Linked DNA regions of Homo sapiens: all the other regions are linked to region 5. Evidence: promoter capture Hi-C in 16 types of primary human blood cells and fetal thymus (Javierre and others, 2016). All regions are on one chromosome and are shown on one strand. Each heading gives the region's core, a stretch centred on a gene start or on the middle of the fragment in contact. The rest is flanking DNA. Distances are from core to core; before and after follow the strand shown. Region 1 has its middle 5.2 kb from the start of TRIM38. Region 2 holds the start of H2BC3 (H2B clustered histone 3). Region 3 overlaps TRIM38 (tripartite motif containing 38). Region 4 overlaps LINC02980 (long intergenic non-protein coding RNA 2980). Region 5 holds the start of H1-5 (H1.5 linker histone, cluster member). Region 6 has its middle 3.9 kb from the start of H1-2. Region 7 overlaps H4C2 (H4 clustered histone 2).

Region 1 (4,038 bases), core at 1,413-3,912, 1.9 Mb before region 5:
AATTAGCTGGGTGTGGTGGCACATGCCTGTAATCCCAGCTACTTGGGAGGCTGAGGCACGAGAATCGCTTGAACTCAGAAATTGGAGGTTTCAGTGAGCTGAGATCGTGCCACTGCACTCCAGCCTGGGCAAAAAAAAAAAAGAAAAAAGTAAAGAAGCTGGCTAAACCCCACCAAATCCAAGATGGCGATGAGAGTGACCTCTGGTCATCCTCACTGCTCCCCACCAAATCCAAGATGGCGATGAGAGTGACCTCTGGTCGTCCTCACTGCTATGCTCATACCAGCGCCACGACAGTTTACGAATGCCATGGCAACGTCAGGAAGTTACTTTATATGGTCTAAAAAATGGAGGCATGAATTATCCACCCCTTGTTTAGCACATAATCAAGAAATAACCATAAAAATGAGCGACCAGCAGCCCTCAGAGCTGCTCTGCCTATGGAGTAGCCGTTCTTTTATTCCTCTACTTTCTTAATAAACTTGCTTTCACTTTACAGACTCGCCCGAATTCTTTCTTGTGTGAGATCCAAGAACCCTCTCTTGGGGTCTGGATCTGGACGGACCCCTTTCCGGTAACAGGATTACAGGTGTGAGTGAGCCACCATCCCCAGCCTTAGTAAATTTTTATTTCAGTTATTATATATTTTTATTTATTTTCTGTTTTTCAGTTATTATATTTGAAACTCCAGAATTTTTATTTAGAATGTATTAACAAATCAGGAGTACTGGCATAAGCCTGGCACAAAGCAAATGTTGACATAGGTCTGGCACAAAACAAGTGTTCAATGCATTTTAGCTACCTTTAAGTGTATTATTACTAGCTGCTTCTGGGGCTATCCGGGGAAAATTATCCTTGCAAAACCCCCACTCACTTCCAGAGCAGGCTTCAGTGAAGCAGTCATCTGTGTCATGACAAGAGCCAAACTCTGTAAAACATTTGAAGAGATTTATTCTGAGCCAAATTTGAGTGACCATGGCCCATGACACAGCCCTCAGGAGGTCCTGAGAACAAGCGCTCAAGGTGGTTGGGATGCACCTTGGCTTTATACATTTTAGGGAGGCATGGGACATCAATCAAATACGTTTAAGAAATGTACACTGGTTTGGTCCAGAGAGGCGGGACAACTGGAAGCAGCGGAGGAGTGGGGTGGAGGTGATGACAATTGGTTGAGTTTGTATAAAGATTTGGGATTAATAGAAAGGAGCACTAGGTTGTGATAACAGGTTGTGAAGACCAAAGTTGTACTATGGGATGAAGTTTTTAGCTAGCAGGCTTCAGAGAGAATAGGTTGTAAAATGTTTCTTATCAGACTTAAAAGCTGTGTTGATGTTAATGCCAGAGAGGAATAATGAGGCATGTTCAACCCCCACTTCCCTTAATGGCCTGAGCCAGTCTTTCAGGTTACATTTTAAGAAGCCTGACTGAAGAGAAAGTCTATTCAGATGGTTGGGGGGCTTTAGAATTTTATTTTTGTTTTATACCTTTGCCCTTGGAAGTTTTGCTGAAAAATGAACACAAAAAAAGGCAGATTCATAAGATAAAAGGCTTTACAATTTAATTACTCTGTGGTTCTCCTCATGCACATAGTACCAATATCCCAGTGGAATTTAGAAGCTTATATGCCACCTTGAAGTTGAAGAAATAACAGGGGCTTGATCCTTGCAAAATAGGTTATGGGAAACAGAAGAAGAGGAATTCTGTTGAGGGGCAATATGTAACTACCAGGAGAGACTAATTGGATCAAAGAACAGATAAATTTGTAAATAGTTCTCCTTGGAATTTAAATGATGCTTAGAGACTGATTATCTTATAAAAGGGTCTGTTCAGGTGTGGTTACATTCTTGGTCTTTCCTATAATGCACAATGAGATAACAGAGAGGGAGAAAAGAACAATTGTTCTCGCTGGTGGGGCCATCCTATTTTTATGTACCTAGGGAAAAGTCTCTTTAGTGTCTGTTGATCTCTAAGAGTTTTTCATTCAAAATACTCATTATATCAGGAAGCCACATTTTGGGGTGAAATTCACTACTCCCTTTTAGAGATACGGGTACAAACTGTTTGTAAAGAATGCTAAGACTTTGCCGGGTGCAGTGACTCACGCCTGTAATCCCAGCACTATGGAGGGGCCAAGGTGGGCAGATCACTTGAGGTCAGGAGTTCAAGACCTGCCTGGTTAACATGGCAAAACCCCATCTCTATTAAAAAAAACAAAAATTAGCCAGGCGTGGTGGTGGGCATCTGTAATCCCAGCTACTTGGGAGGCTGAAGGCAGGGAGAATTGCTTGAGCCTGGGAGGCAGCTGTTGCAGTGAGCCGAGATCACGCCACTGAACTTCAGCCTGGGCAACACAGCGAGACTGTCTCAAAAAAAAAAAAAAAATGCTAAGACTTACTTTGGGACATCCTTTGTCAGGGTCCATGATTCTGATTAGCTCAAGGCAGGTATTTTTTTTTTTTAATAGAGACAGCATCTTGCTATGTTGGCCAGGCTCGTCTCGAACTCCTGGCCTCCAGTGACTCCCCCCACCTCAGCCTCCCCAAGTGCTGTGATTACAGGTGTGAGCCACCACACCGGTCTGGTTTTTTTTGGTGGTTGTTGTTTTAATCCTATAATCCTGTGTCCTTTCTTCCTACCTCTGAGTAGTGCTTACTCTCTCCCCTTTAGTCATTTGAAAAGTTTATCAGAAAGTGGGTGCAGTTTCAGGCTGGGTACCGTGGCTCATGCCTGTAATCCCAACACTTTGAAATGCTTAGATGGGAGGATCATTTGAACCCAGTTCAAGATTACAGTGAGCTGTGATCGTACCATTGTACTTCAGCCAGGGTGACAGTGCAAGAGCCTGTCTCTAAAAACAAACAAAAAATTGCTTTCACACTGTGATGCTATCACATCTCTCCTAAGCTCTTGTTGGGGCTCAGAAATTGATACCCTAATATATGGCCCTTGGTCATATTGAACTGAAGAAGCCTCAAAGTCTCTCTGACATCCCTGCCACCAACTATCCCTACCAAAACACATCGTGGAATTAAAGTTTCTTTATCTACCTAAGATCCAGACCCACCAAAAAGAGCAATTATTTTTATTTACCCTTCCTGTAAGACCAAGAATGTAACCATGCCCGAACGGACTTTCACAAGATAATGTTCAAGTTAATCTCTGTTCCCTGATCTACTTACTCTCCCTAGTAATGAAAGGAGTTGGCCAGCTTGCTTTAGGCAGACAGTAAGGGAATGGTACCCAGAGAACCTCTGACCTGCCCCACAAGTGCTTACACCGGATGTTTTGTGCAGATAAGGGAACTTGCACAGGGGGCTTGCCTAAACATGCCTGCAGTGGATGATTCCTTTCCTTAACACATGCACAGTTCAGGAAATTAATCAATATGGAGTAGCTCAGTCTAAAGGCCTGCATGCACTGGTAGGACAGGGTGGAGTTGTCAGGAATTTGAGTCTTAAGCCCTAGTATTCAACTGTGAAGAGCAAACCAGAAATCTGCTTTCAGGACCCTTGTCTTTGCTGAGAGCTTTCCTTTCACTTAATAAATTCTACTCCACTCATTCTTTGATGGCTGCATGCCTAATTCTTCCTGGCTGTGAGACAAAAACCCGGACCTAGCTGAGCGAAGGAGCAAAAATCCGCAACAGTAATCCCATCAACAGAGTTTCTCTTCTTCCCCTCCCATAATCTGTTTTGCCAGGATAATATATAAGCTTTTAAGCCCTCTTGGGAAGTGGATAATCATTCTATGGTTCTCCCTGTGTACATGTTAATAAATTTGTGAGTTGATTTTTCAGCAAAGTTTCCCCAGAAGCCAAAGGGGAAATTTCCCTTGGCCCCTCCACTCTCTTTTCCCAGCTCTTCTTTTACTTTCGTTTTTATTTCCTCAGCCCAGTAGGTCACAGCCTTCTTTTTATTTCTTCTCTGTCCAAACCATCAGTATATCCTACAGGTGGGAGAGAAGCAGCTCTCTGGGAAACCAGTAAGCACCATGAGTTCTGATACTTTCTAGTACCATTTGACATATTAACATCCCCGC
Region 2 (4,151 bases), core at 1,169-3,668, 1.8 Mb before region 5:
CTGAATGATAACATTACAATTAATGTTTATATTGTAGGGGAAAAGAAAATTCTGTTTTTCTCACCCATCAGTAAGTTCATGCTTGAGGCCCCTCTACAAAAAGACAGATTGGTCGGGTGCAGTGGCTCACGTCTGTAATCCGAGCACTTTGGCAGGACGAGGCGGGCGGATCACGAGGTAAGGAGATTGAGAACATCCTGGCCAACACGGTGAAACCCTGTCTCTACTAAAAATACAAAAATTAGCGGGGCATGGTGGCACGTATCTGTGGTCCCAGCTACTCGGGAGGGCGAGGCAGTAGAATCGCTTGAACCTGGGAAGCGGAGGTTGCAGTGAGCCGAGATCGCGCCATTGCACTCCAGCCTGGGTGACAGAGCAAGGCTCAGTCTCAAAAAACAAAAAAAAAGATTAGCAAGAGAAAAGCATACAAATGTATTTAATATAAGTTTTATATTACATGGGACCCTTCGGAAATGAAAACTCGAGGGAAGCGGGAAACCTGTGAATTTTTATGGCAAGTTTTGTGAAATGCATAGTTGTGGATTAATATGATTGACAGTAGGCATATGATCTAATGGTAATAAACTGAGGGGGACATAGCAAGGCTTGTTTGTTAATTACCTATTAACGATCAGCCGAGTATCAGCAGAGACAGCAAAACATCCTAGTTTTGAGTTAGAAGACCTAGGTTTTTGTTTTGGCTTATCAATTATGGGTATTGTTTTAGATGAAACATCAAGTATTCTTGATTTCTTATTTCAAAAATAAAAAATAAAAAATAAAGGAAGGAAAAAAGAAGAAAAAAAGAGAAGAAAAGTGTCAGAGTTACTTGAACCAGAGTAACTCCATTTTGAGTGAGGGCTAGGAAAATGAGGCTGAGACTTTCTGGGCTGCATTCCCAGAAAGTCAGTCATTCCTAGCTTCTAGATGTTTACGGTTAAGGGAACAAATAAATAATGTTTACTAAACAGACTCAGACTTAGGAGTGTCCAGATATCCCTATATCTGGAGAACAAAGGCATTCTTAATTTTGTTTAAAGATAATAATGTTGATTCTTGCAAAATATAGTAACTAAGAAAATTAATCCTTTATCACAAACTTGTAGCAGAGCACATCTCCCCATATATACAAGTATTGTACCTAGGGTGGATGCCTTCCTCCTCTTACTTTCGGGAATGTCCTGCTCCGTCTATGGAGTAGTTGTCGTTTCACCACTTTACTTTCTTAGTAAACTTGCATTTACTTTGCACTGCGGACTCACCCTGAACTCTTTCTTGCGCGGGATCCAAGAACCCTCTCTTGGGGTCTGGATGGGGACCTCTTTCCTGTAACATATTTCTGGCCACCACAGAAGGGACTATAGTACAGAAACCCTGACCCAACAGCTACCTTTGGGTAAGTGTTGGAGTTCTGTAACAAAGGAAGAAGGCAGGCAGGCAAAAAATTTATGAAAGAACATACGACAAAATAATTTCTGCTTCAAAACTTCATATTTTTTTAATTTTTTTTTTTTTTTTTTTTTGAGACGGAGTCTCGCTCTGTCACCCAGGCTGGAGTGCCATGGCGCGATCTCGGCTCACTGCAAGCTCCGCCTCCCGCGTTCACGCCATTCTCCTGCCTCAGCCTCCCGAGTAGCTGGGACTACAGGCGCCCACCATCACGCCCAGCTAATTATTTTGTATTTTTAGTAGAGACGGGGTTTCATCGTGTTAAGCAGGATGGTCTCCATCTCCTGACCTCGTGATCCGCCCGCCTCGGCCTCCCAAATTGCCGGGATTAAAGGCAAGAGGCACCGCGCACGGCCCCGTCCAAGTTAACCTTGGCTCTAAAACTTGTCTTCGCTAACATTCCAGTTGATCCTCTAGAACTGAAACAGAATAGCAGCAGCACCACCTTAAGAAATTGTGGTTATAGCTCTCCTTGTGACAAAGTAGGTGGCTCTGAAAAGAGCCTTTGGGTTTGGAAGTGCTTACATAAGCACTTATTTAGAGCTAGTGTACTTGGTAACTGCCTTAGTGCCCTCGGACACAGCATGCTTAGCCAGCTCCCCAGGCAGCAGCAGGCGCACAGCCGTCTGAATCTCCCTGGAGGTGATGGTCGAGCGCTTATTGTAGTGAGCCAGGCGAGAAGCCTCGCCCGCGATGCGCTCGAAGATGTCGTTGACGAAGGAATTCATGATCCCCATGGCCTTGGATGAGATGCCGGTGTCGGGGTGGACCTGCTTCAGAACCTTGTACACATAGATAGAATAGCTCTCCTTGCGGCTGCGCTTACGCTTCTTACCATCCTTCTTCTGCGCCTTAGTGATAGCCTTCTTAGAACCCTTTTTAGGGGCTGGAGCAGACTTAGAGGGTTCAGGCATTGCTATTCCTAAACAGAATAGAAAAGCTACTAACACTCTCCACTACAGAGTAGTACAGAGAACAGTTCAGAGCCCATGTATTTATAGTCCTGAGATTCAAATGACGGTTTAAGATTCCTCACTTCTGATTGGACAAAAGAAACACGGTTTCACTGAGGGGTGGGGTTTATGCAAATATGGAATTTATGTTATCTTTTTCTATTGGATAAAGCACCAAACATAATTGACCAATAGGATAGCTTCCTATTGCAGCCTTGCAGTTTGTATAAAAGGATTTGTTCAGGCGCCATTCCAGCTTGCTTGTCTTTCACAGTTTTCCGCTGCTTTCATAGGTCGCTATTTGCGGACGTGGAAAATGGAGCTAAAGCAAAAACTTGTTCGTCGCTACCGGGCTTGCAGTTCCCAATAGGGCAGAGTCCGTCATCTTTTTCGAAAGGGCAATTATTTTGAGCCGGTCGGAGCCGGTGCGCCAGTGTACTTACAATACCTGGCCGCCGAGATCTTAGAACTGGTGGGCAGCGCCATACGTGACAAGACCCGCAGCATCATCCCCCGCCACCTGCAGCTGGCCATCCGAAACGACGAGGAGGTCAACAAGCAGCTGGGCAACGTCACTATTGCTCAGGGAGGCGTCCTGTCCAATATTCAGGCCGTCCTGTTGCCAAAATAACAGAGCCACGATAAGGCCAAGGTCAAGTAAACACTCAAATCAGAAAACGTAGCTTACACTTGAAACGGCATTTTTCAGAGCCGTCCATAGTTACACAAGAAAGGATGATAACTTGCTTCTGTTAGGGTATTTTTTGCTTTTCGTTTGGATTGGTTTGTTTTGAGACAGTCTAGTTCTGTCACCCAGGCTGGAGTGCAGCGGCGCGATATCGGCTTACTGCAACCTCCACCCCGCCGCTTCACGCGGTTCTCATGCCTCAGCCTCCTGTGTACTTGGGATTACAGGCGTCTGCTACCGCGCCCAGCTAGTTTTTGTATTTTTATGCGAGACGGGGTTTCACCATTTTAGCCAGGGTTGTCTTGAACTCCTGGCCTCTAGTGATCGTCCCATCTCGCCCTCCCAAAATGCTGGGATTACAGGCGTGAGCCACCGCCCCCCTAGCCTAATGGTGTTAAAAAGTTAAGTTTCGAGAAAATAACACCTTCCTTTAGAAAGTACATTTTAGAGTATACAAAGTGAAACTTAAGGCCAACCAAAATAAGACATTTTGAGAACAGGCAGGGTGGGAATGTGACTTGGACTTAGAAAACAAAGGGCAAGGAAACTTGCTGTTCGCCAGTAACAAAATAGCATGGAATCTCATTCTCTGAATATAAGCGTTATTTCCCGACATGAGTCTGAACGTTTCTGGTGGTTTAGTGAGTGTTCACCAGCATTGATAACTTGCGAGACTGTCAGGAATGCAGAATTTCAAGTCCCACTCAAACTTACTGAATCGGAATTTACATTTTAAAAATCCTTAGATACCTTGTTATACACTCTGTTCTTTGGGACTGGATGAACTAGAATTTTAGACAATTTGTCGCTGCAGATAACTGAAACGAAAAGGACAGGATGGGCGGTGGGGCAACTCATCCAATAAGATTGTCTAGTAATGAACCAATCAGTCTGGTCACTCTTCAGCCAATGATTTTATCGCGCGGGACTTTTGAAATATTACAGGACCAATCAGAATGTTTCTCACTATATTTAAAGGCCACTTGCTCTCAGTTCACTACACTTTTGTGTGTGCTCTCATTGCAAATGGCTCGTACGAAGCAAACAGCTCGCAAGTCTAC
Region 3 (3,767 bases), core at 1,236-3,735, 1.9 Mb before region 5:
CATGGGAAGATAAAGTAATGTTTCTTTTAGATGTACATCAGTGCCATCAGGCTGGCCTTCACTAATTTATAGGGTACCTTTATGTCAATTAGAAAAATAAACTTCTGAGGGAACACAGCTTGGCCAAATGAAACCACGGGATAACATTTACCACTGTTTGCCTCCTTGGCCCATGTGCAGAGAACCCTGGTTGTTGACTCTCTCCTGAAATACTCCACTAGGTGACTGATGGGTGATGAAGTGGGGCAGCCAAAATGAGTGATAACCTTTTCCCTGATTTGCTTGTAGAACCCTTGCTCCAGAGCTGTTATGGTACAATCTACAGCTTTATCTGTAGGAAGATAAACATCTGGAGCCATTAATTCTGGTTCTAACTAACAGGATTGGTGACTATACTGTAAGGCTGAGTGTATAGCATGATTGCTTTACCACTGTGTGATACCTGCTACCACCATCTTAGTGGCAGTGGCCCAGTCTCAGGGCTGTGCACAGATTCACCACTAAGGACCTTTATGATAAGTGTTCTCTAATCTGGGCTCACTGTGAAGGAAATCCGATCACCAAAAGCTAGTCCTTACAGAGGGAGCATGGACAAAGCTCCTGGCCCTCAGACTTCAGCAAGGATGAGAATAGATGCAAATGTTGATAAACATCCTGCCATGCTGAATCTCCCAGAAGCTGGTAGGAATTATTCCATCTGGGTATCCATCAATACCTAAGACTGGTGGGAATTACTTTGTTTGAGTATCCATCAATATCTAAGACTAAGACTAGGGTAACTCTCTTTACTTCTTCGGGTAAAGCAAAGAAGAATAGCCCTGCATGACAAGCCCCATGAAATACCGATGTTCCCATGCTCACCTTTTCTTTTTGTTTCTTTATAGAATGTGAATGACACTTTGAGCAGGTAAGTCCTGTTTGAATGCAGGAGGGGAGGGGTGTGCGTATATAGAAATGAATGGAATGCACCTCTGAAGAAATCTCTCGCCTCTGCTTATTCTAGGAGTTGGGCTGTGAAGCTGGAAACATCAGAGGCTGTCTCCTTGGAACTTCATACTATGTGCAATGTTTCCAAGCTTTACTTCGATGTGAAGAAAATGTTAAGGAGTCATCAAGGTATGTTCACTAAAGAATTCCTGAATACTGTGGATAGAAGGGGCCTTATGCAGTAACCAAGTTTACCACCTGTCCCTTGGCAGGCTCACAGCCAGAGAGGTTGTTTAGTTAATTTCAGTAGAGCTTTCATACTTTCTCTAGTTAGTATGATTCACTGCTCAGTGAATGTGATGAGCATTGCATTCTGGTTATCTGTGCAAACCTTTCAAATTCTTATTCTTTCACTTATTAGCCATGTTACTCCAAGTGACTTGGTTTCCCCCTCTGAAAAATGAAAATATTAACAGCTCCTACTTCATTGAGTTATCATCAAAATTAAATGCATCAACATGTACAAAGTGCTTAGCCCTGTGACTGACACATGATCATAATAGCACATCATGGTATTAGATCTGATCATAGTGTTTATTATCAATAGCTCAGCCAACTCTTAGAGCAATGCAAGAAAAGTAGGTGAGTATGATAACCTATCATTCACATATTTTAGGAACTTGACTTAGATAACACAGATGACAAATGTTACAACCAATTTACAGATTCCAAAATGTTAGAACCATTTACTGAGTTTCCTGCTCCCTTGATTTTTTAAATCAGTGCTGACTATACTTTCACAAATTTGTATCCGTAAGTACAAAATCAAAAAAACCCCTGAAAATGGAAAGTTTTATCATGATTCATTTGGCTACAAAAATCTGGCCTAACCTGAAATGATTTGGTGGTTATATTAGTTATCTATTAGTACAAACAAATTACCATAATTTAGAACCTTAATACAACACTGATATGTTATCTCAATTTTTGTGGTTCAGGAATCTGGGCACAGCTTAGTTGGGCCTGCTGCTTAGGGTCTGATAAGGCTGCAGTTAAGGTGTTGGTCAGGCTGTGTTCTTATCTGGAGGCTAGGCTAAGGAAGAATCCACTTCCAAGCTCACTGAGGTAGCAGGCAGAATTTCTTTCCTGATGGTTGCAGGACTTTGGCCCTGGTTATTTCTGGCTGTTGGCTGGAGGTTGCCCACAGCTTCTACAGGCCACCCCTCAGCTCTTTGCACATGGGCTTCTAACATGGCCAGTTATTTCTTCAGAGAGAGCTCAGGAGACAGACTCTTTAGAGAAAATCTGCCAGCAAGATGGAGTCTTACATAATGAAACGTAATCATAGAAATTATATCCCATCATCTTTGCCATATCCTATTGGTCAGAAGCAATTCATAAGCCCTGCTCACACTCAAAGACAAGGAATTTTACGAGGGTGTGAACACCAAGAGGCAGGAATCATAGAAGGCCACCCTTGAGTCTGTCTTCCACAGTGGCCAACCCTGAACGGCACTGAGATGAGACTATTTAAAAGTCTTTATTTATCCCACTTAATTTGAATAAATGTTTTGCTGCAGATATATTGATGAATTTGATTACAGGGCTCTGCCTTAGGCCATGATGGGGTTGAACTTTAGAGTATATGCATTTTTTTGCCTTTATAACTTCTAAACTAATTTGAATGGCAAAGCCCATTTTGTTCCAGGGATTTCAGAAAAGGAATTATAGACCTGTGTTCCCCTCAAATACACAACAACAAACAACAACAAAACCCAAAAGCACTCTGTATTTCATCCTATACAGATGACAGGAAGGAAGAACAAGACTTTGTGTAAGTTTTGCTGGGATTTCACTGAGTCAATTTGCCTACTCTCATCTTTTACAGAAGGAATCATAATATGGTTCAAGTGAAACTATTTCTTTCTTTCTTTCTTTCTTTTTTTTTTTTTTTGAGACAGAGTCTCGCTCTGTCGCCCAGGCTGGAGTGCAGTGGTGCGATCTCGGCTCACTGCAAGCTCCGCCTTCCGGGTCAAGTGAAACTATTTCTTAAATGGGCTTATCTTTTAACTAAATATTTCTCCCCTCTTAAACACTGTTTATTAAAATTTTTCTTTTTTCAAATTTTTTTTTGAGATGGAGTCTCGCTGTTACCCAGGCTGGCTTGCAGTGCCGCAATCTCAGCTCACTGCAGCCTCTGCCTCCTGGGTTCCAGCGCCTCAGCCTCCCGGGTAGCGTGGGATTACAGGTACGCACCACTATGCCTGGCTGATTTTTGTATTTTTAGTAGAGATGGGGTTTCACAATGTTGGCCAGGCTGGTCTCAAACCCCTGACCTCAGGTGATCTGCCTGTCTCTGCCTCCCAAAGTGCTAGGATTACAAGTGTTAGTCACTGTGCCCAGCTTTATTACAAAAGTGATAGGAATAAATTTTATTTTTATTTTTAAATGTATGTTTATTTTATTTTACATTGCCTTCAAGCAGATGCAACAAATACATTTTAATCAGTCAAACAATATAAAGGATATAAGGAGAAAGTTCAAGGTTTTTCCCACCCGTCTCCAATCTGACTTCTCTAGGTAGGGTGATCTATATCTTTCCCTAAGTTTGTACAAACGTAACATATATACACTGTCTCTTCTATGTTACTCGTTACTTTTTATGTCTAATATTCCATAAGAATATAATAAATATATGTAACCATATCCCTACTGATGGAGCTTCAGGCTGTTTTTAGAACTTAGTTATTACAATGTTGCTACAATAACTTTCTAGTCCATGCATCCTTATATCCTGGTGCTTTCATTTCTTTTGGGAACATACCCCAAACTGGGATTGC
Region 4 (4,002 bases), core at 165-2,664, 1.9 Mb before region 5:
CAATACTGCTCTTCAAGTCATTGAGATGTTTATGTGTATGCATATCTAAAGCACAGCACTTAATTCTTTACCTTGTTTATGATGCAGAGACCTTTGTTCACGTGTTTACCTGCTGACCTTCTCTCCACTATTATCCTTTGACCCTGCCACATCCCCCTCTCCGAGAAACACCCAATAATGATCAATAAATACTAAGGGAACTCAGAGGCCGGTGGGATCCTCCGTATGCTGAACACCGGTCCCCTGGACCCCTTTTTTTCTTTCTCTATACTTTGTCTCTGTGTCTCTTTCTTTTCCAAGTCTCTCATTCCACCTAACGAGAAACAACCACAGGTGTGGAGGGGCAGCCCAACCCTTCAACCTACCTATCTTATCTCTTCCATTATCTATCCACATATGTCCTCTGTATTTTTTTGAGTAACATTTATAAGCATAAGTCCTTAGGTAGCTATGCCACTTACATAATGAACTAGAAAAGGTAACCAAACAGAATAGGGTTGTACTCAGATATACCTTCTACAAGTTTGTGTTACACATATTTACACATATTTAAAAATATATACATATTATTATTGTGCTGTGTGGTTATTAGGCAAACTCAATAAGCAGTTCTTATAAAGTATACTCAATGTAACTTTTATAAACTTACCATATTTTATAGTTATTCTGTTTTTATTAGCTGCTATAAACTACCTGGGTGTCTTGCATGAGTCATTTTATTGTAATGTTTTTGTATCTGTTGAATGAGGAGTTAGAAGGCATCATCTTTAAGGAGCTTTACAGGTACATGTCCAGGGCTCAATAATTTTATTATTATTTCCTGGACAGATAAAACCTAAGCAGGTGAAGGGGAAAGAATAAAAGTGCAGGGTGGAAGTTGCTTGAATGCTAACTGGGTCAACGATCTCCCAGAAAACCCCTGTAAAAGAAACCTAAGAACCTACATCACCAGGAGACCATTGGGACCAGTTCCTCTGGAATCCCTGAGGCCAGATAATCAGCTGAAGCTTTACATTCTGTCCCTTTCTGGTCATGACTTTCTCCACAGTCTGCTTGGTGCCTCCTCCTCTGTGACTCTAAATTCTTAGGATCAACCCCTCTTGCATATGCACATCCGCAGTGCCTGTGGGATACGGTGTGGTGTGGGGAGGAAACTCTCTTCTGCCTTAATATTTTCCTGTGTGCCCCAGGCCTTGACGGAATCCTGTCTCTCCATAATGTTGCTTTTCGAGGAGACTGATTGATTGAGATGGCGTCTCACTTTGTCGCCCAGGCTGGAATGCAGTGGCGTGATCTCGGCTCACCAACCTCCACCTCCAAGGCTCGAGTGATTCTCCCACTTAAGTCTCTTGAGTAGCTGGGACTACAGGTGCATGCCACCACGCCTGACAAATTTTTTTATTTTTTGTAGAGATGAGGTTTCGCCATGTTGACCAGGCTGGTCTCAAACTCCTGGACTCAAGTGATCTGCCCACCTCGGCCTCCCAAAGTACTGGGATTACAGGCATGAGCCAATGTGCCCGTCCTGAGGAGTTTTCTTCTGGAATTCCTGCTGGGTTTTTGTAGTCAGTCCTCTCCCCATTTCCCACATTGGCTCTTGCAGACCTTCCTTTTCCCCATTTCTATTTGCTACCATGTCAGACATGACTTTTGCCATAGGATCTCTATTCTACTATAGAGGAAACCAAAGCCATCAGTAGAAATTTCACTAACATGGAATCAGATTTATAGAAGAAAGGGGGAGGAAAGTTTTGCCTTAACACCTGGAAGGGTTTCGTTTCTTTTAGTAGCTGGGAGACAGAAACATAAGAAAGTAGCTTAGTAAGCTTTCTGCTGTTCAACTGATGATGTGTGAGCTGTCAGTAGTTCAAACTAGTCATTATCTTTATGAATTAATTATGTAATAACTTAAACAATGTCATAAACCTTCAAATCAGTTTAAGTCTAAATGTGTCATATTTAATAACAAGAGCAAGAAACATACGTTATGATGAAGAGCTCTTATATTTTCTTTGGATAAAAGTCAGTAGGCGGGGCGCGGTGGCTCATGCCTGTGATCCTAGCACTTTGGGAGGCTGAGGTGGGCAGATCATGAGGTCAGGAGATCGAGACCATCCCGGCTAACACGGTGAAACCCTGTCTCTACTAAAAATACAAAAAATTAGCTGGGCGTGGTGGCGGGCGCCTGTGGTCCCAGCTACTCGGGAGGTTGAGGCAGGAGAATGGCGTGAATCCGGGAGGCGGAGGTTGCAGTGAGCCGAGATTGTGCCACTGCATTCCAGCCTGGGCGACAGAGCAAGACTCCGTCTCAGAAAAAGAAAAAAAAAAAAAGTCAGTAAAATTTAAGAGAAAAATGCATTTGCTTTGGGACTTTTAATATTTAGTCTACAAATCTAGCCACCATAGAAATCTGCTGATTAAATACGGGTTCTGTTAAAATGGAAACATGCATTTTGGGGGAAAAAAGAGGGAGTGTTTTAGTGATTTTGTTTTTTACACTTGTTTATAATAAAATTTTAAGCAATCTTGAGGGGAACATTTTATTTCTACTTGTAACTGCATAAAGTTATGAGATAAAGTTACAAGCTATATCACATACAGTTTGTAGCTTTATAAATTATGAAATTCTAACAGAATAAATATGCTAATATGATGAAAATGTCATAAATTACATTAGAATATATTTTAATAAACCAATTCAGAAGGAGCCAATACCCAATTTCAAAATCATATTAATTGTAAAATTAATTAGGGCAGCCAAAATATTCTGGAATTCTTTCTAATAAAACAAATGAGTGTAAATACAGTCGTACTGACAAATCTGAAGAATTATGCAGCATAAAAAGTGATTATCCCAGCACTTTGGGAGGCCAAGGTGGGCAGATCATGAGGTCAGGAGTTGGAGACCAGCCTGACCAACATGGTGAAACCCCGTCTTTACTAAAAATACAAAAATTAGCCGGGCTTGGTGGTGCACACCTGTAATCCCAGCTGCTCAGGAGGCTAAGGCAGGAGAACTGCTTGAATCCAGGAGGTGGAAGTTGCAGTAAGCCAAGATCACGCCACTGCACTCCAGCCTGGGCGACAGAGTGTGACTCTGACTCAAAAAAAAAATAAATAAATAAAAATAAAAGTTTTAAAAAAGTGATTATTATGAACACAGAGTAATCTAGTAAAAATGGTTAAGTGAAAACAGCAAAATACAAAATTGAATATGTACTATAACAATATATGCAAAATATACTCAGATTTATAAAAATTAGAATGTAGAAAAGTAAATATAGCTCTTCATAATTTTGTTCTGAAGTTTAAAAATATATATATTTTTGAATGGATAACTTTCTTTTTCTAAATGCTTACAGTAGAGCCCACGATGGTTGTTAAAAGCCCCCAGGTTCAGCCTTCTTTAATTGTGTGGTCAGCCTGCCATCAACCCGAGGCCTCCCTCTGCTGGGCAAATTTGGGAACACATTGAGAAATCCTTACACGTAATTCCTTCTCTTCATGTTCCTGGTGAGCATTTTTCCCATTGGGTTTCCATACTCTGCCCTCTTGAAGTCCTGCACCCTGACATTGCAGTGTCATTCCTCTTCTACTGAAGTCTACAACTATTAGCTTATTGTCTCTAGCAAGTCTCCCTTTAGCTACAAATATCATTCAGAGTTTTACCTTTCAGAAACTTTCTCCATGAGCATTCTGGAGTAGACTCTAGGTGCACTAGGTGCAGTTAGAAAAAGTTCTGATTTGTTGGTGGAGCTATAGGAGGAGAGACAATGGTGGGCTGGAGAAGGGTGTCTACATGCAGAGAAACTGACTGGAAACTCAGAGAGATGATGGGGATTAAAATAATCCTATTGAATCTGCACAAAAGTGTTTTATTATAATTGATCCTGAACTATGTAAAGGTAAGCTCCAGTGAGTAGTTACAGTCTGTCCCTAAGATGGACTCTTTCTTTTTGCTTTTATTTTTATTGTATTTATTTTATTGTATTTTTTTTTTCT
Region 5 (3,818 bases), core at 1,011-3,510:
AGTTCCTCCATTTATCGTTTCTTCGTCATGTCGGGACGCGGCAAGCAGGGAGGCAAAGCTCGCGCCAAAGCCAAGACCCGCTCTTCTCGTGCCGGTCTCCAGTTCCCCGTGGGCCGAGTGCACCGACTGCTCCGCAAGGGCAACTATGCTGAGCGGGTCGGGGCCGGCGCGCCGGTGTACCTGGCGGCGGTGCTGGAGTACCTGACTGCCGAGATCCTGGAGCTGGCGGGCAACGCCGCCCGCGACAACAAGAAGACCCGCATTATCCCGCGCCACTTGCAGCTGGCCATCCGCAACGACGAGGAGCTCAACAAGCTGCTGGGCAAAGTAACCATCGCTCAGGGTGGTGTCCTGCCCAACATCCAGGCTGTGCTACTGCCCAAGAAGACCGAGAGTCACCACAAGGCCAAAGGCAAATAATGTCTCCATAGAATCACTTTCCAATACAACGGCTCTTTTCAGAGCCACCTACTATTTCTGCGGGAGAGCTGGGCCACTGGTTAAACATTTGGAACGTTTGTTATGAAAAGATAAAGCATTTTTCATCTAGAGCTTAGGAATGACTTTTAGGAAAAACCTTACAGGATTCAGGTGACATGTTTAAGTCAGAATGTGAACTAGTTATTTAATGTAGGGCTTACAAGAATGTTCGCTGTGTTTATTCATCTCGTGTTATATGAACTAGAACCAATAAAAAAAAATCCAGAGCCAGGCTCAGTGGCTCACGCCTGTAATCCCAGCACTTTTGGAAGCTGAGGCGGGAAGATCGCTGGAGCTCATGAATTCGAGATCTGCCTGGGCATCATAGCGGATACAAAAATTAGCCGACCGGGGTGGTGCACGCCTTTAGTCCTAGCACTTCACAGAGGCTGAAGTGGGACGATCCCTTGAGCCGGGGAGGCTGAGGCTGTAGTGAGCCGAGACCACGCCACTGCACGCCAGCCTGGGTGACAGCGAGAACCTGACTTGAGGAAAAAAAAATAATCCAGTACAGAATGACACGGTCATATCAAATTGGCATGTAATAGAGACCCCATCTTGAAACTTGCTACTATATTGTCTTGTGCGTTGATAGCATATTATATTAATGCCGAACACATTAGTGACGCCGAAGTAGCTGGTGCCTAAATGGCTTAAACGCGGAAAAACCACATACAGATGATGGAACAAAAACTGGCCAATCAGATTATAGAGCGGGCTTTTTAAAATATAAGAAGCTTCTTTGTAGCTAGGCGTCTGACAAAAAGCTTGACACCAACTTAACAAAAACCAACGGCTGGAATTCATACTCTAATAACAGACTGCATGGGTAAACTACGTGGGGAGTCCAACCAACACCCTGGACTCTTGCTTGCCTTGCGTTACTCGATTAGGGTTGAGGGAGAACTGCCCGAGATTTTTCGAATGCAAGGAATCTTGCTGCCTGATCTAACATGTTGTGCACAGCCATTTTTTAGAGGTCTCTGGGTGGCTCTGAAAAGAGCCTTTGGGGCTTTGTTGCGGTTTTCACACGCCAGCTTCCTACTTCTTTTTGGCAGCCGCCTTCTTGGCCTTTGCAGCTTTAGGTTTTGCTGCTTTGGGCTTAGCGGCTTTGGGCTTTGCCGCCTTCGGCTTAACTGCCTTGGGCTTGGCAGGACTCTTGGTTGCCTTTTTCGGTTTGGCAGCGGCCTTGGCCTTCTTAGGGCTCTTCGCCACCTTTTTGACGCCAGCCGCCGCGGGCTTCTTCGCCTTCTTCGGAGTCTTCTTCACTGCCTTTTTCGCCCCTGCAGCCTTCTTGGCCTTCTTAGGCGTGGCCCCCGCGGGCTTCTTAGCTTTAGCGGCGCCTGCCTTCTTGGCTTTGGGCTTGGCTTCCCCGGAGGCCGCCTTCTTGTTGAGTTTAAAGGAGCCAGAAGCACCAGTGCCCTTGGTCTGCACCAGGGTGCCCTTGCTCACCAAGCTCTTGAGGCCCAGCTTAATGCGGCTGTTATTCTTCTCCACGTCGTAGCCACCGGCCGCTAAGGCCTTCTTAAGGGCTGCCAAAGAAAGGCCATTGCGCTCCTTAGAAGCAGCCACAGCCTTGGTGATCAGCTCTGAGACTGGGGGCCCCGTCGCTTTGCGCTTAGCAGCGCCGGCGCCGGCAGCCTTCTTAGTTGCCTTCTTCTTAGCCGGGGATTTCTCCACCGGCGCTGGGGTGGCTGTCTCGGCAGGAGCGGTTTCCGACATGGTGGCAAGAAACTGCTAGAAGAGAATAAGCTCGAAATCTAAAGAGCAGGTTTTGCGTTGCTGCTATGCTCGGGCCCCGGGCTTATATAAGCCGGCGCTGCCCTGTGATTGGTGGAGCGTCCAATCCACCGCCCTCTGGCCGCCGCCGCTCGCGGTTGGACTCCCAAATTGTGTTTGTTAGTCCTCAAAATTTGATTAAATGCTTAAAACAATGGTACAGAATTTGGCACTTTGAAGCTCCAAAGGAGGAAAACAGCCTCCAGGTTCACATACTTGTTTGTGTTTTCAAGAATCTTGTGCAATTGATGAAAGATATTTTAAAAAATCCCTTCAGCTTTTCATAAGAATCCATTGGGCTGAGGGCATCATGTTAGTTAGTAGCGTGTCGCGATAAATTTCTACTAAGTATCCAGTGAAAGTTATTTTTAAAAATTTGCCCATGAGTTCATGCTTTGATTTTTGCAAGAGAAAAGACACTGGGTTCCTTGGTTTGGGCATGAAGTTTGTTTCTAACTGTAGCAAGTAACACAGGCACAGGACAGCTGGTTGCCTACAGCCCCAACTTAACCACATAGACTTGACTTTACAAACTGGTTCTGTGTCCTAGGAGTTTCCATGTGCTAATGTCTTTACAGAATGGGATTTTGCAGCTTGGAAGAGTTCCACAGTCAGAGTGACTTCTTCTGCATTGCAGCACCAGTAATACAAATCGCTTTGACTTAAGGATCTAACTACTCAGATTCACATTCAAACTTAAATGTGTTATGTTTTCTAATTAGAGTGTTTTCTCTTTTTAGTTCCTGGGCAAATCCATTAAAAAAGGGGAAGAAAAATAATATAGATAATTCAGTTTAGAGAAAACTCAAACTTGTGGAAAATTATTCAAGAGCTCCCAGTGATCCTCAAATGCACAAACTGTTTAGGTGGCCCAGGACACTGTCAGGTTTTCGAAATGTTCTCACTGCTCCCCCTGAATCTCCACCCACATTTAACAAGCTGCACCATCAGGAATACTCTCTTCTATGAGCAGCCAGGATACATCAATATGGGTATTTTTGTGTGTTTTAGCGCTAATATTTTAGAAGAATATCTGGCTATTGACTGTGAAAAGGTTGGATTGGATATTGAGCGACTTCACATTATAGAGGTTCAGAGGAACTCAGGAAAACATAGGCAAATACACTGAGGTTGAAATAAATGAAGTTTACAATTTATGGGAGGTGGAGGGGATTGGACAGGATGCCTGGATGATAAAAATGATCAAATGATGATTTGGATTCCTAATGAAATCAACAGTCACTTATTTCTCATTCTTGAAATGCTGTGCAAGAAAATTTAAAGTAGCCAATGCACTTCATCTTCTAAGAACTCCTGGAGAAGTTGGCAGACTATGGCCAAATCTGGACAATGGCTTTTTTCTGTATGGCCCTCAAGCTAAGAAGTGTCTTTATGTTTTAAAAGTATTGTTAAAAAAAAAAAAAACAAAAACAAAGGCTGGGCACGGTGGTTCATGTCTGTAATCTCAGCACTTGGGGACACTGGGATAGGTGGGTTGCTTGAGCTCAGGAGTTGGAGACCAGCTTGGGCAACTTGGTAAAACCCCATCTTTAATAAAA
Region 6 (4,196 bases), core at 1,588-4,087, 1.8 Mb before region 5:
ATATAAGGCTGGGCCCCGTGGCCCACGCCTGTAATCCTAGCACTTTGGGAGACTCGGGGGCGGATCACCTGAGGCCAGGAGTTTGAGATCAGCCTAGCCGACATGGTGAAACACCATCTCTACTAAAAGTACAAAAATTAGCTGGGGGTGGTGGCACTCAGGAGGCTGAGGCAAGGGAATCGCTTGAACCCGGGAAGCAGAGGTTGCAATGAGCCGAAATGACGCCACTGCACTCCAGCCTGTGCAACAGGGTGAGACTCAGTCGAAAAAAAAAGAAAGAAAGGAACAATATAAGAACATGTCACTTAGGCCAGGCTTGGTGGCTCACGCCTGTAATCCTAGCACTTTGGGAGGCTGAGGCGGGCAGATCGCCTGAGGTCAGGAGTTCGAGACCAGCCTGGCCAGCATGGTGAAACCCCATCTCTACTAAAAAAAATACAAAAATTAGCCTGGCGTGGTGGCAGGCAACTCTAATCCCAGCTACTCAGGAAACTGAGGCAGGAGAATCATTTGAACCCGGGAGGTGGAGGTTGCAGTGAGCCGAGATTGCCTCGTTGCACTCCAGAAGCCGAGATTGCCTCATTGCACTCCAGAAGCCGAGATTGCCTCATTGCACTCCAGCCTGGGCAACAGAGCAAGACTCCATGTCAAAAAAAAAAAAATAAAATAAACATTTCACTTAGATCTTATTCTATGTGCAATGAACCCCCTTCTCATTTAAAACTCAGCTAAGTATATCCATCATGAAAATAGCTATGAAACGTCTTGATTACCAGGTAACTGGACCTTCTTTCACTATAAATTGGTGTCCTGGTTTATAAATCGACATGTAAATTTAATCGCTGTGATTCAGTTCTCTAATATGATTTTTCTAGTCGACTCAATCTAATCACATCTCTTTATATGCAAATCTCAAGTCCAGACCTCAAGCCATTAGGACATCCAGCCACCCAGAATCTTGTCCCCAACCTCCTGGCAACATGGTGGAGGCCAGAAGACAGAGAAACATGTAACCAACCCTTTTCTAGATCCTTTATAAAGTGTGTTGAAAAAGTTATGCAAAACTTAAAAGCAACGCAAAAATATTTCTCCATATCCTTCCAAGCTATATTAGAGAATTATCTAAAAAGCCTACTTATGGGGTACCTGATGATGTAAGGCAATACTAGACAGTAAAATAGAATGTGAATCACATAAATACTTTCCAGATTTCTAGTGGTCACATTGAAAGAATGAAAAGAAACAAGTAAAATTAATTTTAAGATATTTTATTTAACTTAATATATCTAAACTATTATCACTTCAACATATAATAAATAAGCTAAAAAAAAAGACAGTTGACATTCTTTTTTAAATGATAAATCTTCAGAACCTGGTGTGTATTTTACACTTTTAGAACATTTTAAATCAGTCTAGCTATAGTCCAAATGGTCAATGATCACGTGTAGCTAGTGGTACCTTATTGGACAACACTGTCCTACGTGAAAGTAACTCTGACTTAATGTTTACATTTTATTGGGTCCAGACTATCTAAAAGTAAACATTCACTTGTAGAAGTTTAATAAATTAATAAGGATTTTGTCATAGAGATGGAAATGAATTCTTAATATAGAAAAAATGACCCTAAAAGTTATTATTGTATTGCCTAATAAGTCATTAAACAACTTTATATCTGATTTTCCCTTCCTCTTCCAGTATACATCCTTTCCCTGACCAAATACATATTTTATTCTCCCGTATCTTCCTTTGACCTAATTGTGATTCTGCTTCCTCCTTCATTAATGAATTAAATCATTCATTGACACATACACAAGCTCACTATATATAGTACATATATGTCAGTCATGTTTTTAACTTCCTGAATGTTGTACTTTGACACTTGGTTGTTCAATTTCGCCTAAGAGCTCTGAATCAGAACCTTTAGAAGCCATTCTGAAAAACTGGAAGATACAAAGCTTTTGACTATCAACTCCATAGCAACCTGATATCTGGTTGGTGTTCCATGGAAACTGTATTTCTCAAATTTTGAAATAAGATTGAACAAGCCTGTGAGCAACAACAAAAAAAAAGTCTATTAGAATGACCTCTGGCCGGGCGGGGTGGCTCACGCCTGTAATCCCAGCACTTTAGGAGGCTGAGGTGGGCAGATCATGAGGTCAGGAGTTTAAGACCAGCCTGACCAACATGGTGAAATTCCGTCTCTTCTAAAAATACAAAAATTAGCTCGGCATGGTGGCGTGCATCTGTAATCCCAGCTACTTGGAAGGCTGAGGCAGGAGAATCACTTGAACCCAGGAGGCGGACGTTGCAGTGAGCTGAGATTGCGCCACTGCACTCCAGCCTGGGTGACAGAGCGAGACTCTATTTCAAAAAAAAAAGAATGACCTCCAAGGGAAAGTTCAGATTAAGGATGTGGTCGTCCCACCCAAAACTGATGTCCTCAAGAAAGCCACAAACAAATTGAGGACACAGTTAAAATATTGTAATGCAATATATTGTGTATTCTTTTATTTACACACACATCATAAATATTATAGGTTGACTAGTTTTGTTTCATGCCACACTCTTCAGGGTCTGGAAACCCTGGTAGAAAAGTTAAAAATGCAGAGCAAAATGTCAAGTCCAAACAGCAGTAATGGGGCTAGAGAGAGACTCAAACAGCCAAGATATATTCAAAGGATAGTGAGAGGAGTTGTTAGGACAGGTGTAAGGAATGAGGGTGACAGCTGGTTTTTCTTTCACTTTTTCCTTCTACTATGCCAATTAGAGTTCTTTGTTTTTGATAGAGACAGGGGTCTCACTATGTTGCTCAGGCTGGTCTCAAACTCTTGGCACCAAGTGATCCTCCTGCCTCAGCCTCCCAAAGTTTTGAGATTATAGGTGTGAACCACCAAGCCCAGCCTTAGAGTAGGGTTCTGTCATCTTTTGGATGTAGCTAACCTAATATTACTAAATCCTGTATAGGCCAGAACTTTGAATGATTTAAAGCTGTTTTTTCCTGACTCACCAATTAATGAAGCTAATAATAACAGCCACCCCACTGGCAGTGCCTGCCTCAAAGAGTAAGTGTTAGTGTTGCTATCTGCTTGAGACCAACAATACAGGGACTCCAGGATATTTTCAGCCTAAATAAGATTGTAGGGGCTCTTGTCTGTTGCCTGGCTTCAGCCCCATAAACTTTTTTTTAACATATAACCCAGAGCCACAGTTTTGCTCATATTTCAATCTTTGAAGGCAAATGGCCAACAATTAGATTAAACCTGAGGCTAAATATTTCCTCACCTCAAGGGCTGAGACGAAAGTTACTGCATCTGTATTCCCTAACACGCCCTCAAAATGGGTTGCAGAAAACAACAGAAAATATACTAAAGCACACAGTAGGAGCATAATAAATAGTGATTAGCTGGGTGCAGTGGCATGCGCCTGTAGTTCCCGCTACTCTACTCATGAGGCTGAGGCAGGAGGATCACTTTTGCCAAGCAGTTTGAAGTTGCAGAGAGCTATGATCACAACACTTCACTCTAACCTGGGCAACAGAGCAAGACTCTGTCCAGAAAAATAAATACATAAATATAAAATTTAAAAATATAAATAAATACATAGAGAGTATTACAAAAGGAACAATATATTGCAAAATATATTTACCTAACATTTTGAAATTGCCATTATAATTGTATAAGTGACATAGGAAACTGGGTCATTAACAGCTATCTTATTCTTCAAGCTTCTTTCAAATGATGTCAAAGCATTTCAGAAAGTCAAACCTACCCTCAAAGGATAAGAATTTGTCAATTGTGAGGATATGCACATTTTTACACCTTCTCAATCTGTGTCTATATGAAGGCAGTTATAAAGCACAAGATGCAAACGTATATTAGGCAATAGTCTTCATCAGAATAAGTACATAACCTGACACAATGACTATATTGGAAGAAACATGGAAATGCAAATTTCAATAGATTGGTTGACATTATTTTTTAATGTCTAGTTTTTTACTGTGCTGTGTTTTTACACACTTAATGAGCACTTGTTAAGCACAGGACACCAGGAGAAATAATAAAAACTAAGATCAGCCTAGCAGTGTGTCCTCTCAAGAACTTATACCTGGTGGGACAGATACAGACAAATATAACCATCATACAGTGTGAGAAATCGATAGAAAAGACACAGCCACTGAGAGCACAAAAGAATAAAAA
Region 7 (3,832 bases), core at 346-2,845, 1.8 Mb before region 5:
CTCACGATGTTAGCTTCAGTGATGGATGTCTCTTTATTTTGAGGTCCTGTTTTCCACCTGACAGTTTTCATCCAGGATTTCTTGAGGAATTACACAAGTACCCAGCTTGGCTTAATTTAAAACTGACAATGGAGAGAATTCATAGCTGCATTCTGGATAGTTTCAGGAATCAGAGGAGCAAAAATGAGCCTGGTATGGAGGGTGGGTCATTTTATGTCTTTCTTAGTTGGTATTTTAAAGATATTTATTGATCTCATATGCCAGATATTGTTGAAATCATTGGGGTACATAAGTTAGAAAATTTTAATTCCCTTTCCTGAATTCCAGAGTCAATGTAGAGGGGTGTGTGGATATCGATTACCCATATGGGAGGTATAGTCGTTGTAACAATAAGCCACGACTAGCTCCTGTTACGTTTTGCCTGGCCTTTCATAGCATTGCTATGTTCATAGCATTGCTGATATGTCATACTCATCTTAGGCATACCCACCACCACCTTGGGCCTTCTTCAGTCCTAACACTCATGCAGTCCTTGTTCAGAACAAAGATAATGTTGCTTAATTTGCAACCCCTAGACTATCCCCCAGATTTTCTAAAGAGAAACTGCACGCTGATTGCTTCAGGCAGTGGCAGGTCAAGGAATGAGATGGGGAATTGATTGTGTTAGCATTCTGGTGGGCTTAGTGGAGAGCCTGGAGACTTACATAGAAAATTCACACATCCTTTCATTCAACAAACCTCCATAAACTACCTGTTAAACGTCAGCCCTGTTCAAGGTGCTAGGGATACTTCTGGGACAAAACAAAGTCCCTACCTTCAAAAAATATATTCCAGTTGGGGGAGAGAGAACAAACACAAAATAAAATATATCTAGTTATATGTATTTTTTGTTAAATATATTATTACATATATAATTCTAGGTGGGGAAATGTTATATATATATGCTATTGAGGATAGTCAACTATATATATATATGCTAAATGAGCAGAAAAGCTTATTTTACAAGGGATGATTATGGGAGGTCTCTTTCGTAAGGTTGGTATTTGAGGAGAGGCTTGAATGAAATGAGATCTAGAGCCATTCAGATATCCAGGACAAGACCCTTCTAGGGAGAAAGAATAGATATAAAGGTGCTGATGCTGGAAATGCTTGGTCCATTCCAGAAACAGCAAGGTCAGTGAAGAGAAAGAACTGCGAAGAGAATGAGGTCAGAGGGTAGCCAGAGTACAGATCTAGTAGGTTGAGCAGCTCATCCTAGTTTGCTTGGAACTTTCTAAGTTTCAGCACTGTAAGTCTTACACCCTGAGAAACCCCTGAGAGTCAGGCAAACTGTAATGGTTGGTCATCTTACTTGTAGGCTATGATAAGGATGCTGGTTTTTATTATGAAGGTGATGGAAAGCCAGTGGAATCTTTTCAGCAGACAGTGGACATAATACCTTCAAAAAGGATCACTGTTGATGCTGGATAGAGAAAAAACTGTATGACAGGGGGATTAAAAGTGAAAACAAAGACCAGTTTGGGGTCACTGTGGTCATTCAGACAAACCGCCATGGCAGCTTGCTCCTAGAGAAGCAGCAAAGAAAACAATGAAAGGTATTCTGATTGATTTTCAACAGAGCTGACTGCATTGGGTGAAAGTTGTAAGAAGCTCAGGACAAACAATATTGCACAATTCCTGGCCCAAGCTGCTTGAAGAATGGAGTTCTATTGATTGACATGACAAATATCAGAGGAAGAACAGACTTGGTGTTTACGTATAAACATATTTTGGACAAGTTCGAGATGCCCATTATTCAATTAGATACATCAAATATGCAGTTGTATATGAGTCTAGAGATTTAAGGTCAGGGAGATGGTTTATAATTGCAAACACTTATTTAGAGACACAGTTTCACTCTTGTCTCCCAGGCCTAAGTGTAATAGCGCGATCTCAACTCACTGCAACTTCTGCCTCCCGAGTTCAAGCTATTCTCCTGTCTCACCCTCCCGAGTAGCTTGGATTACAGTCGCCCGCAACCATGCCCAGCTAATTTTTTTTTTTTTTTTAGTAGAGACGGGGTTTCACAATATTGGCCAGGCTGGTCTCGAACCCCTGACCCCAGGTGATCCACCAGGCTCAGCTTTCCAAAGTGCCGGGATTACAGGCGTGAGCCACCTTGCCGGGCCTATATTTCTTAAGCTCTATGTTTCGTTCTGAAGCTTGAAGTGGGTGGAAGCAAACTGATAGAATTTGGAGAGGTGGTTAGGCATCCCGGGAATGAGAAACAGCCCGAAGCTGCCACTATCACAGGCTTTGGCATTGCTAGAAGTTAACGTGGCACTTACAGCTAGGCCGTGGTGTTCTGTTGAACAAACTATTTGACAGAGCACAGAGCATGTAAGTGGTGAGGCCAGTTGAGTTAGCCAAGAAAAGAGGAGTCCAAGAACTGAGCCAGAGTACACCAGAGTATGTAGTGGAGTACAGCTTTCTCATTCTTTAGTAGGGCTGTGTAGAGAAATACTCTATTTTATGGATGTATAGATCACTCTAGTCCTTTCTGATGAAAACTTTACAGTTGCCACTCATTTACTATTACAAACAATGCTGCACTACATTATGTTTCAGTTTTTAGCCATCTCATCTGGTCTCAGCATTTATTTATCTGCTGATGACTCACACATTTTTATCTCCAGCTCAGACCTCTCACCCGAACTCACTTATTCAACTGCCTATTCACTATATCCTCCTGTCAGGAGAAGCTTGTTAGCAAAGTAACCAGAAAACAAAGTTGATTTTTTTTGCTGAAGTAGCCATCAATATATTTGTTACTAAATCAAAGATGCTGAATATTTGGCTGACTTCTAAAAATCTGGTCACCTAACTTTGACACTTCCTAGGTCGTACAGTTTGAAACTTTCACAATTAAATCAGTTTTGGAATTTACAATTTAAGGCAGGAATAGAAGACTATTGGGTTGACAGGTACAGTGAAGATGCAAGTCATCTGAGAATCTTACATCAGAGGGGGCTTCCATCTTATAGCTGCTGCCACGGACCTCGGAGTCAGAAGAAATTTGAGTCCTTATTTATAAAACAGACTCCCTTAGTCTACTAAGTGGGAATTTACGAACTGCGTAGGCAGCCTGCTTAGGGGAGCCTCCAGCCTGAGGACTGAAAATAGCAAAGCAGCTTTAACCGCCAGTCCTACTCCAGAGAAGGGGGAGGTGACGTCACTCAGCAGGACGCCAAGCTCAACTAGAAATGGAAGTAAAGGCTTCTGGCGCTACCGGCAGGGGGCGGTTAAGGACGGCAGGTGTTACCAGGGAAGCTAAAAGTACAGCTTTTGCTGACGTTAAGTCAGATACGCCTGGGAAAACAGACCTGACACCCATTTTAATCCACCTACTCAGTTCCAGGCAGCTAGCATCTTAGGCTCTCGTACAAATAACGCACAACTCGTTTTTAAAACTAAAAAGCTGAGCTACTCATTTATCGGACTCGCGCTGCACGTTAAGTTGCTTGACATGTCAAAACTATAGCATTGAAGTTTATAGCTCACTTATCTCGGAGACCTCGTTTACTTAGCTGATTTCTGCTTTAGCAGCCACTCAGACCAAACAACCTGGTCTCTCCCAACTGGTTTATAATAGTTCTACATACTAGGCAGAATAGCCGAGTAAAGCCATTGAGATGTTACCATCCGAAAGAATACAATCACAGCTCTTTCTGAGAGGGAGTGGGCGGCCCTGAAAAGGGCCATTGGAAGAAAACTGACGAAAAGATTAACCGCCGAAGCCGTACAGAGTGCGTCCTTGACGCTTGAGCGCGTAAACCACATCCATGGCAGTGAC

Evidence for each region. Contacts are between HindIII fragments. The CHiCAGO score rates a contact against its expected background, and 5 or more counts as called.
Region 1: a contact is called between a fragment that was not itself captured here and the fragment with the promoter of H1-5 in region 5, in 1 of 17 cell types (non-activated CD4 T cells). The highest score is 6.7, in non-activated CD4 T cells.
Region 2: the fragment with the promoter of H2BC3 here is called in contact with the fragment with the promoter of H1-5 in region 5 in 17 of 17 cell types (non-activated CD4 T cells, erythroblasts, naive B cells and 14 more); the score reaches 73.1 in non-activated CD4 T cells.
Region 3: a contact is called between a fragment that was not itself captured here and the fragment with the promoter of H1-5 in region 5, in 2 of 17 cell types (monocytes and M0 macrophages). The highest score is 6.4, in monocytes.
Region 4: a fragment that was not itself captured here is called in contact with the fragment with the promoter of H1-5 in region 5 in 3 of 17 cell types (monocytes, non-activated CD4 T cells and M0 macrophages); the score reaches 6.5 in monocytes.
Region 6: a contact is called between a fragment that was not itself captured here and the fragment with the promoter of H1-5 in region 5, in 5 of 17 cell types (erythroblasts, fetal thymus, M0 macrophages and 2 more). The highest score is 9.7, in erythroblasts.
Region 7: a fragment that was not itself captured here is called in contact with the fragment with the promoter of H1-5 in region 5 in 17 of 17 cell types (erythroblasts, fetal thymus, non-activated CD4 T cells and 14 more); the score reaches 48.7 in erythroblasts.

Annotation. Positions count from the first base shown.
Region 1 is chr6:25,955,536-25,959,573 of GRCh38, forward strand. No RefSeq gene overlaps it. Among named protein-coding and RNA genes, the nearest start is that of TRIM38, 5.2 kb to the right of the region's middle. RefSeq lists a cis regulatory region at 3,135-3,439. The HindIII fragment of the contact is 2,095 bases long and covers 1,616-3,710 here.
Region 2 is chr6:26,041,295-26,045,445 of GRCh38, forward strand. H2BC3 (H2B clustered histone 3) reads right to left here and starts at 2,419. Exons shown (of 1, transcript NM_021062.3): 1 at 1,933-2,419. The coding sequence starts at 2,363. The coding sequence ends at 1,983. It overlaps H3C3 (H3 clustered histone 3), which reads left to right and starts at 4,090. Exons shown (of 1, transcript NM_003531.3): 1 at 4,090-4,151. The coding sequence starts at 4,117. It also overlaps the pseudogene H2AC5P. RefSeq lists enhancers at 2,663-2,902, 4,133-4,151. The HindIII fragment of the contact is 16,277 bases long and covers 1-4,151 here.
Region 3 is chr6:25,972,170-25,975,936 of GRCh38, forward strand. TRIM38 (tripartite motif containing 38) reads left to right here. Exons shown (of 8, transcript NM_006355.5): 6 at 885-907; 7 at 1,004-1,116. Among named protein-coding and RNA genes, the nearest start is that of TRIM38, 11 kb to the left of the region's middle. RefSeq lists an enhancer at 1-49. The HindIII fragment of the contact is 2,823 bases long and covers 1,075-3,767 here.
Region 4 is chr6:25,999,839-26,003,840 of GRCh38, forward strand. LINC02980 (long intergenic non-protein coding RNA 2980) reads left to right here. Exons shown (of 3, transcript NR_186645.1): 3 at 1,412-1,937. Among named protein-coding and RNA genes, the nearest start is that of LINC02980, 9.2 kb to the left of the region's middle. RefSeq lists an enhancer at 1-315. The HindIII fragment of the contact is 819 bases long and covers 1,006-1,824 here.
Region 5 is chr6:27,865,328-27,869,145 of GRCh38, forward strand. It overlaps H1-5 (H1.5 linker histone, cluster member), which reads right to left and starts at 2,261. Exons shown (of 1, transcript NM_005322.3): 1 at 1,465-2,261. The coding sequence starts at 2,202. The coding sequence ends at 1,522. It overlaps H2AC16 (H2A clustered histone 16), which reads left to right. Exons shown (of 1, transcript NM_003511.3): 1 at 1-471. The coding sequence starts at 28. The coding sequence ends at 420. RefSeq lists enhancers at 8-529, 81-170, 461-510, 2,081-2,190, 2,451-2,520. The HindIII fragment of the contact is 3,270 bases long and covers 1,246-3,818 here.
Region 6 is chr6:26,058,244-26,062,439 of GRCh38, forward strand. No RefSeq gene overlaps it. Among named protein-coding and RNA genes, the nearest start is that of H1-2, 3.9 kb to the left of the region's middle. The HindIII fragment of the contact is 1,769 bases long and covers 1,954-3,722 here.
Region 7 is chr6:26,023,178-26,027,009 of GRCh38, forward strand. It overlaps H4C2 (H4 clustered histone 2), which reads right to left. Exons shown (of 1, transcript NM_003544.3): 1 at 3,719-3,832. The coding sequence ends at 3,764. Among named protein-coding and RNA genes, the nearest start is that of H4C2, 2.2 kb to the right of the region's middle. RefSeq lists enhancers at 2,484-2,778, 3,719-3,768, 3,799-3,832. The HindIII fragment of the contact is 1,208 bases long and covers 992-2,199 here.